2 separate regions of the Homo sapiens genome follow, and region 2 is linked to region 1. The links are contacts of gene promoters, found by promoter capture Hi-C in blood cells and fetal thymus (Javierre and others, 2016). All regions are on one chromosome and are shown on one strand. Each heading gives the region's core, a stretch centred on a gene start or on the middle of the fragment in contact. The rest is flanking DNA. Distances are from core to core; before and after follow the strand shown. Region 1 holds the start of LINC02939 (long intergenic non-protein coding RNA 2939). Region 2 overlaps GTSE1 (G2 and S-phase expressed 1).

Evidence for each region. Contacts are between HindIII fragments. The CHiCAGO score rates a contact against its expected background, and 5 or more counts as called.
Region 2: a contact is called between a fragment that was not itself captured here and the fragment with the promoter of LINC02939 in region 1, in 1 of 17 cell types (neutrophils). The highest score is 5.3, in neutrophils.

What each region holds. Positions count from the first base shown.
Region 1 is chr22:46,068,701-46,072,426 of GRCh38, forward strand. LINC02939 (long intergenic non-protein coding RNA 2939) reads right to left here and starts at 2,321. Exons shown (of 2, transcript NR_148973.1): 1 at 1,939-2,321. All of the region lies in intron 1 of LOC124905135 (collagen alpha-1(III) chain-like), which reads left to right. RefSeq lists silencers at 1,963-2,742, 2,803-2,882, 3,013-3,222, 3,303-3,392, 3,563-3,642 and an enhancer at 3,236-3,726. The HindIII fragment of the contact is 11,898 bases long and covers 1-3,726 here.
Region 2 is chr22:46,316,799-46,320,483 of GRCh38, forward strand. The region is part of intron 7 of GTSE1 (G2 and S-phase expressed 1); the gene reads left to right. Among named protein-coding and RNA genes, the nearest start is that of TRMU, 17 kb to the right of the region's middle. The HindIII fragment of the contact is 4,924 bases long and covers 1-3,685 here.

The DNA of each region.
Region 1 (3,726 bases), core at 1,071-3,570:
CCTTTTTTTTTCCTTTTTTCGCTTGAACGTGTATCTCCGAGGTATGCATCATTTCTAGAGATTGCCCTTGAGAACAGTTTTATTGAGAATAGTAACCATATATTTATGTTCAGAATCCCCATTTGGTCGTTACCGGCTGTGTTCATTATTTTGGAAAAACAAGATTCCATATTAAAAGGCCTGGTGCTTATGATGTTTAGATCTCTGCATTCATCTCAGTTTCTAAAGCATTTTTGTTCTTCTGGAGTCCCTAAACTTGCTAAACCACAAAATATCTGTAGTATGTTTTTTAAAGTAGTTGAACCATACAGCAACGATGGGGTACAGGAGGAGTTTATAGAGCAGTTAGCGGTTGAGTTCTGCCTTAGTGTGGCTGGGTTAGGAGGGGCTACAGGGGCATATGTGGGACTTTGGGCACTGCTGGGCACAGACTCATCCTGTGGGAATGTGTGCTCTCACCCCACACTTCCTATTTGGGGCTGAAAATTTTAATAGTGAAGAAAGAAAATGATAAAGCACTGTGCTAGACAGGATTGATTTCCCCTGCTGTATTGCTAGAAGGTAGACACGGCATGTCTGCGTCTCAGGCTGCCGAGAGAGCCGTGCCCTTTTCTGGGGAAGCACAGAGCTCCTGAGCTTCCAGCTCTGGGCCCCACAGCCCTTGGAGCTGGGGGGTGAGGGGGAGACACAGGACCTTCCTCAGGAAAAGAGGGCACCCCACTCGATAGTGAAGCCACCAGGCAGCTATGGAAAGTGAAAGTTGGTCCGGATTCCAATGAAAAGATTAATTGGAAAACATTTCTACTCCATTTTCTAAAACTGAGTTTTCCCATAGAAAAAAAAATAATAAAGCTATCCCTAAAGTTCTTTCAGCTTCTAAAAAGAAGATGCTGTAGTAAGATTCCAGTCCCCACCGCCCCAACTCCCAGGAAAGCAATTGGGAAGGTTTCTTAACATACCCTGAGTTCTTCCTTCCCTCCCCCCAAATTCCGTGTGTCATGGGGTGGAGGCAGTGGTGTGTTTATCAGGGTGGCTGGCACAATTCACAGCCACAATCATGGGGGTCTAGCGAGCTGTGGAAGGCAGCTCAGTGGGCAGCGAGGCCCTGGCAGAGTTGCCCGGCTGCCCCAGCCCAGCGTTGCCCTCCTGGGCAGTCTAATCCAATGTGAAATGAAGTTTCCTGGGAAGCAGGGCACACGAGGAACTTTTGAATTTACCAATGGCATAAAAAGTATATATATTTTTATGACAACGGGCAAGTTTCAATTGGTTGGCAGAAATGGCGAGATGTGACGTCAAGGGACACTGGTTAGAATGCCAAGGCCGGCGGCGGGGGGTTGGGGGGAGACAGGCACAGACAGACATTGGGTTGGGACCCGGGAGGCCTTGTTTCTCTCGGGCCCTGGCCGCCAAAGGGCCGTCGCAGGCGTCTGGGGACATCAGCTCCATGCGGCTCTGGGCCAGGGCATGCTCGGGCAGGGGGACGGGGTCTGCGAATAGTGACTCTGTGTCCGCGTGCGTCCCCGAGAGCCGGAGGCCCAGGCCGGCCCCTCTGCGGTTTGGGAACCACTCAGGCGCCTCTGTGGAGCGGGCGGGAAAAGACGCCGCGGCCTCCTTGGCATTCTAACCCGTGTCCGGACCCTAGAGGCCGGCCGGTCTCAACCACCGGGAGGGCCTGGGAGGGAACCGTGTGGCCCGGGGCCAGCAGTGTCGCCATCGGGCTCCGAGAGAGCAAAGCTGTGGCCTTGAACTTCTCCCCGAAGCTCCTGTGCCCTGAGTCGGGGAAGCAGGAAGTTGTTGCCACCGGGAAGGAAGAGAGCGCGCTCGGAGCTGGGCAGCGGCTCCAGGCACCGCGCCCCTGCCCATCCCACGCCTCCCCGGGCACCGTGAACCACCCCCCAACCCAACTCCTCCAGGCACCTTGCGCGCCCCTCTTACATCTCCCGGCACTGTGCGCTGACCCCTGCCTCCGCCGGCCGGCTCCCGTGTGCCGAGTCCGGACTCCCACCCCTCTGGGCACCCCTTGCTCCGCGGGGCCGGCGGTGTCCTGGAAGCCGCCGCGGGGTTGCCCGTGCGCGCGCTCCGCCCTGGGGGAAGCCCGCTGCCACCGTCGGCCCCGAGCGCTGTCCCGGGGCCGCGTCGAGAGCTCCGCAGCGCACACTGTTCCCCGCGGGGACGAGCCTGGAGAGCCTGACCGCTGTCCGCGGCGCGCTCGGGGCTGCGGGCACCAGGTTGCGGGGACTGCAGGGACCGTCGGTCAGCCAGGGGTCCCAGAGCCGGGCCCGAGCGTGCGCGCGCGTCCCGCTGCCCGCAATCATGGCAGCCGGCGCCTTGGAGCGCAGCCGCCGAGCGCGCCCCAGCAGCCGCCTCGGTGCCAGGGCGGCGGGGGCGGGCCGGGCCGGGAGCTCGCGCCCGCCCGCCCGCCTCGGCCGCGCGGGCCCCGGGGCGCGAAACGGAAGGCCGCTGGGTCTCCGCGACGCGGTGCCCTTGCCCGGGGCGGGCGGCGGGAGGGGCCGCGGGGCGGGGGCGCGCTGGAGGGGAGCGCCCGGGGCGGCGTGCCCGCGGGGACGCGCACGCGGGGCTGCGGGGCGAGGCGCGGGGCCCGGGCGGCGAATCCGCTGCTCGCACCGCCCGCCCCGCCCGCGCGCGCCGTCCCGGGGTGGGGGGCGGTGGAAGGGGGAACCCAGGAGGGGCGGCGCCCGGTCTTCACCCGCAGCGGGCACGGCGGGGGCCGCGGGGGGCCTCGTTGGTATTCCGGGCGCGGTTGCATCCGCGACCTCCCCGCAGAACAGGGGTGCCCGGGCGCGCGGGCACCGCCGCCGCTCTCGGGCGGTCTCCGCGGGCTGCGGGGCCCGCAGGCGCCTTGCTTTCCCCGTCCCCTCCTCCCTGGGTTCCCCGTACTCCCTCCCCCGCTCCGATCCGGCGGCGAAGGGGTGGGCAGGGAAACGCGCTCTCTGGGACAGGTGCCAACTCCGAGACAAAAGACATAAAATAGGCGGCAACGGGGGAAGCGCGGCCGGCGCGCTCGGGCGGGGACGGCGGCGCCGCGGGGGCCGCATCCTCGGTGCCGACCCGGGAAAGTTTGGGAAGTCGCCGCAGCGGCTTCGCAGCGGCGGGGGACGCGCGGCCCGGGTCGCCCTCCGCGCCGCGCTCGCCCTCTCCGCGCCGCTGCTGAATAATTCATGGCGCGGCCGCCGGCCATTAGCATGCACCGGGCGCGCGGCGCGTCTGTGCCAAGCCGCCGCCGCATTCGGCGCCCGGGCAGCGCCAGACGAGCGGCCGCGCGGCGGCCGGGCCCACGCTGTCCCCGCGCCCGCCCGTCCGGCGGCGCCCATTGTGCCCCGGCCCGCCCCGCCGGGCTGTCCCCAAGCCCGCCTGCAACCCACCGCCCGCCCGACGGCCCGGCCCTGCAAGTCCTGGCTCGCGACGCCCGCCCCGGAATGCACGTGAACTTGGAGAAAGTCGCGGGGCGCGCCGGCCGGGCTCTCCGCGGCAGGGCGTGGGCGTCCCGGGGCCGGCGCGCTTTCGTTTTCGTCTGGGACAAAGGTCCCTTGCGGCGCGCGGACGCCGTGACCGGGTCCTGCGGGCCACTCTGTGGCGCAGTCGGGTCGCTAAGCGCAGGGAAGCCGGAGCCCGAAGGCAAGGAGAGACGCGGCGCGGGGCCGGGGAAGTGGGGCCTGGGCCGTGCGCTTCGCCCGCGGCAGTCCAGAGCCGTCCCACCCTGCG
Region 2 (3,685 bases), core at 1,154-3,653, 250 kb after region 1:
TTCTTCAGCTATCTTTTCCTCTTTCCACTTTATTTCCTAGGACTCTAATCACATCTATTTCAGGCCTCTTGACGTTGTCTCACAGGACACCGAAGCTCTGTTCTTTTTTTTATTTCAGCCTTTTTTCTTTTTCTTATCTTTTTTCTTTTCTTTCTTTCTTTTTTTTTGTTTTTTGTTTTTTGAGACGGAGTCTCGCTCTGTCACCCAGGGTGGAATGCAGTGGCGCGATCTCAGCGCACTGTAACCTCCACCTACCGAGTTCAAGCAATTCTCCTGCCTCAGCCTCCCGAGTAGCTGGGATTACAGGTGCCCACCACCACACCCGGCTAATTTTTTTTTTGTATTTTTGGTAGAGACGGGGTTTCGCCATGTTGGCCAGGCTGGTCTGGAACTCCTGACCTCAAGTGACCCACCCATCTCGGCCTCTCAAACTGCTGGGATTATAGGTGTGAGCCACCGTGCCCGGCCCAGCCTTTTTCCTTGAGCTACAGTTTGGGTAGTTTCTGTTGTCAGATATCATTTCTTCTGCAGTGCCTAACAGCTGTGAAGCCCATCCAGTTAACTTTGTTTCTAACATAATAGTTTCCCCTTATTTCTTCTCATGGTACTTGGGTTTTCTTTTACATCCTCGTGAGCAAATTGATAATGGTTTTAGGGTCTACGATTCTTCTCATACCATCTTCCCCATCATTTTGGGGTCTGTTTCGACTGACTAATTTTGTTTCCGGGTTTTGGCCTCATTTTCCTGCCTCTACATTTTTCACAAGTTTTTCTTGGTTGTTGGATATTGTCAGGTGTACACTTTTGAATGTCTGGATTTTGTTGTCTTTCTCTGAGGAGTTGGGTTGGGCTTGGCAGGCAGTTAAGGTGCAGATCATCCTTCCGAGGCTTTTTATGCTTTGAAGTGGTGGGTCTAGCATAGCCTTTCCGCCTCCCGCCACCGGCGTCCTTCCCAAGGCCTCTGCTGCACACCCGTGTGTCCCGCAAGGCCCGCGAGACCCCTGCACTCCTGCTGCTGCAAGATGACACCTTCTCGGCCCTGTGAGCTCCGCTCGTTGCTCCCTGGTAAGACGGCGGTTTCTCGGCCCTGTGAGCTCCGCTCGTTGCTCCCTGGTAGTTGCTCTTCTCTTGACCTTGAGGACTCCTGCCCTGCACCTGTGCACTGCCTGGTGCTCAGCCAGAGACTCGAGATTCCCTTGGGTTCCTAGAGCTCGTTCTGTCGGAGTAGCCCCCTCCTCTCTAGTTTCTGGCCCTCAGATTGCAGCCACCTCAGCCTCCTGAGCTCCAGCCACTGCCTTCTCCAGTCAGTGAGGCCACTGGCCCCAGCAGGTGTCTGGCCATTAGTGGGTGGGTGTTTGTAAAGTTTTCATGAATTTCTTGAACAATTGTGTGCAATGCAGAAAGTTCTCAGAGCTGACTTAAGGTGAGAGGAGCGTCCTGGCCTCCTCTGTCAGGCAGATCTGCCCTCTGGGTGCTTGAGGATTTTAAGTTCTGGCAGTGCCGGCCAGCACAGGCAGCCTGCAACTCCCAGAAACTGCATTCTGAGTCCTGCTGTAGGAACAAGCTGTTCTGCTGAGTGTCTTCTCTGTGCTGGAATGCTTTGGGGGACAAGGGACATCATGATAAGACAGACCTACTCTCACAGAATTTCTGTTTAATAGGAAAAGATACGAAATGTTATCAGATGAGCAGGCCTGCAGATCCTAGCACAACAAAGGGACTAAGGGAAGATGGTGTCCTGGAGCTGGCATGTTTGGGGAGGAATTTGCATCGGGTGGTTCTTTGGCAAAGATGGTCAGGAGGTGACACGGGACTGAGATCTGAACCAGGAGACTGAGGCAGCCGGTAGGAAAGTGCAAGGGGGAGCACTCCAGGCAGAGGCAACGGCAGGAGTGCAGAGGTCCTGGGGCAGGAAGGCGTGGGACGTGCTCTGGGAGCAGCATGGGGGCCGGAGGGTGGGAGTGCAGCCGCTGCGGTCGGGATTCTGCGTAGACGTGCGACAGCTGGTCAGTACTCCTTGGTGTCAGGGACCCAGGCTTACTCCATCCTGTGCTGCCGTGATGAGCTTCTCATCCTCATGGTCTAGTGTGGCTGCACCGGCTCTGGCCCTCATACCTCCCGGCAGGAAGCCTTCTTCTAGGTGAAGAAGAGCAAATCCCCACCTTTCAAGGACCCTCACTGCAAGTTGTCCCTGTGACTCCGTTTGTGTCCCATTGAGTACGACGCTTCCCTGCACAGGATGCTAGGACACGTTGTCTTTATTCCGCACACAGCTGAAATTTCTTACTGAGAAGAGGAAAGTTGCTGTTGAACAAAAACTAGCAACCTCAGCCAGTCAGTGACCGAGGGGCAGGGTAAGAAGAGATGAAGATGGAGGGGCAGCCCGAGGCCGGCTCCCAGAGCGCCGCGTGACCAGAGCGGACCCTGGAGTACCGTCAGTGCAGGAGGACGTGCATAGGAGAGATCAGAGCAGAGCGACTTGACCTTCAGAAGGTCCCTCCACAGAGGGAAGAGCAGAGTCTCTGGGCCGAAGAGTGGTGGGGAGGGTAATGCGGACCTGGCCCTCACTGTGTTGGGGAGGAAGCTAGTGCTGGGGAAGGAGGCTGGAGCGCTGCGGTCTGCCTGACGTTCTGGTAGCTTAGGGCTCATGTGGCAGTGCAGAGAGGGACTCGAGTGTCCCTGAGGTTCTGGCGGAACCTGGGTGCTGCCACTCATGTGACAGGAGGGCTGGAAGAGGCAGCGGGCAGAGTCCACGGCCCCATTTTGGAAGTAGTGAGGGTGAGAGGCCACTTAGGCTGCAGCTGAGGGGTGGAGCAGGCTGAGAGCTCAGAGGAGAAGCCACAGCTGGAGACCTCAGTGTAGGTTTCAACAGCAGAGAGCTGAGTTTGTAGAGATGGGAGCTGTGAGCTGGGCACGGTGGCTAACTCCTGTAATCCTAGCACTTTGGGAGGCCGAGGTGAGCAGATCACCTGAGGTCAGGAGTTCGAGAGCAGCCTGGTCAACATGGTGAAACCCTGTCTCTACTAAAAATAGAAAAATTAGCCAGGCATGGTGGCGCATGCCTGTAATCCCAGCTACTTGGGAAGCTGAGGCAGGAGAATCACTTGAGCCAGGAGGCAGAGGTTGTAGTGAGCCGAGATGGTGTCACTGCACTCCAGCCTGGGCGACAGAACGAGACTGTCTCAAAAAAAAAAAAAAGAAAGAAAGAAAGAAAAGAAATGCGAGCTGTGATTGGGTGGGTTCTGCAGGGACACCCTACGGCCCAGGTCATGTGGAGGTGTGTTCAGTAGTGTTTGCTTCCCTTCTGCCTGAATGCCTGGAGCCAGGACATGCGTCTGCCATGTCTCTCCTGACCACGTTGGCACAAGTGTTGGCTGGTCTCCTGGCTGTCGGGCTGCTTGATGCCACAGGACTTCTGCTAATCCCAAATCCCTGTTGGCTTTGCCCTGTTTCCCAGAGCGTGTCCCTGCGGTCTCCTTACGCACCTCTCAGATGTGCATTTCACCTTCGGCAGGCGGTTCCTCCTCTCTCCACAATGCTGGGAACAGGACTGTCTCTTGCACGCCTTTGGTCATTCATCAGGGTCAAAACTGGTCCCACAAACTCAGCACTGGCCGGAAGAGAGGCCCCAGGGGAGCAGCCACGCTGTTGGGAACACACAGCTCTGGGAGGCACGTGGTGGTGT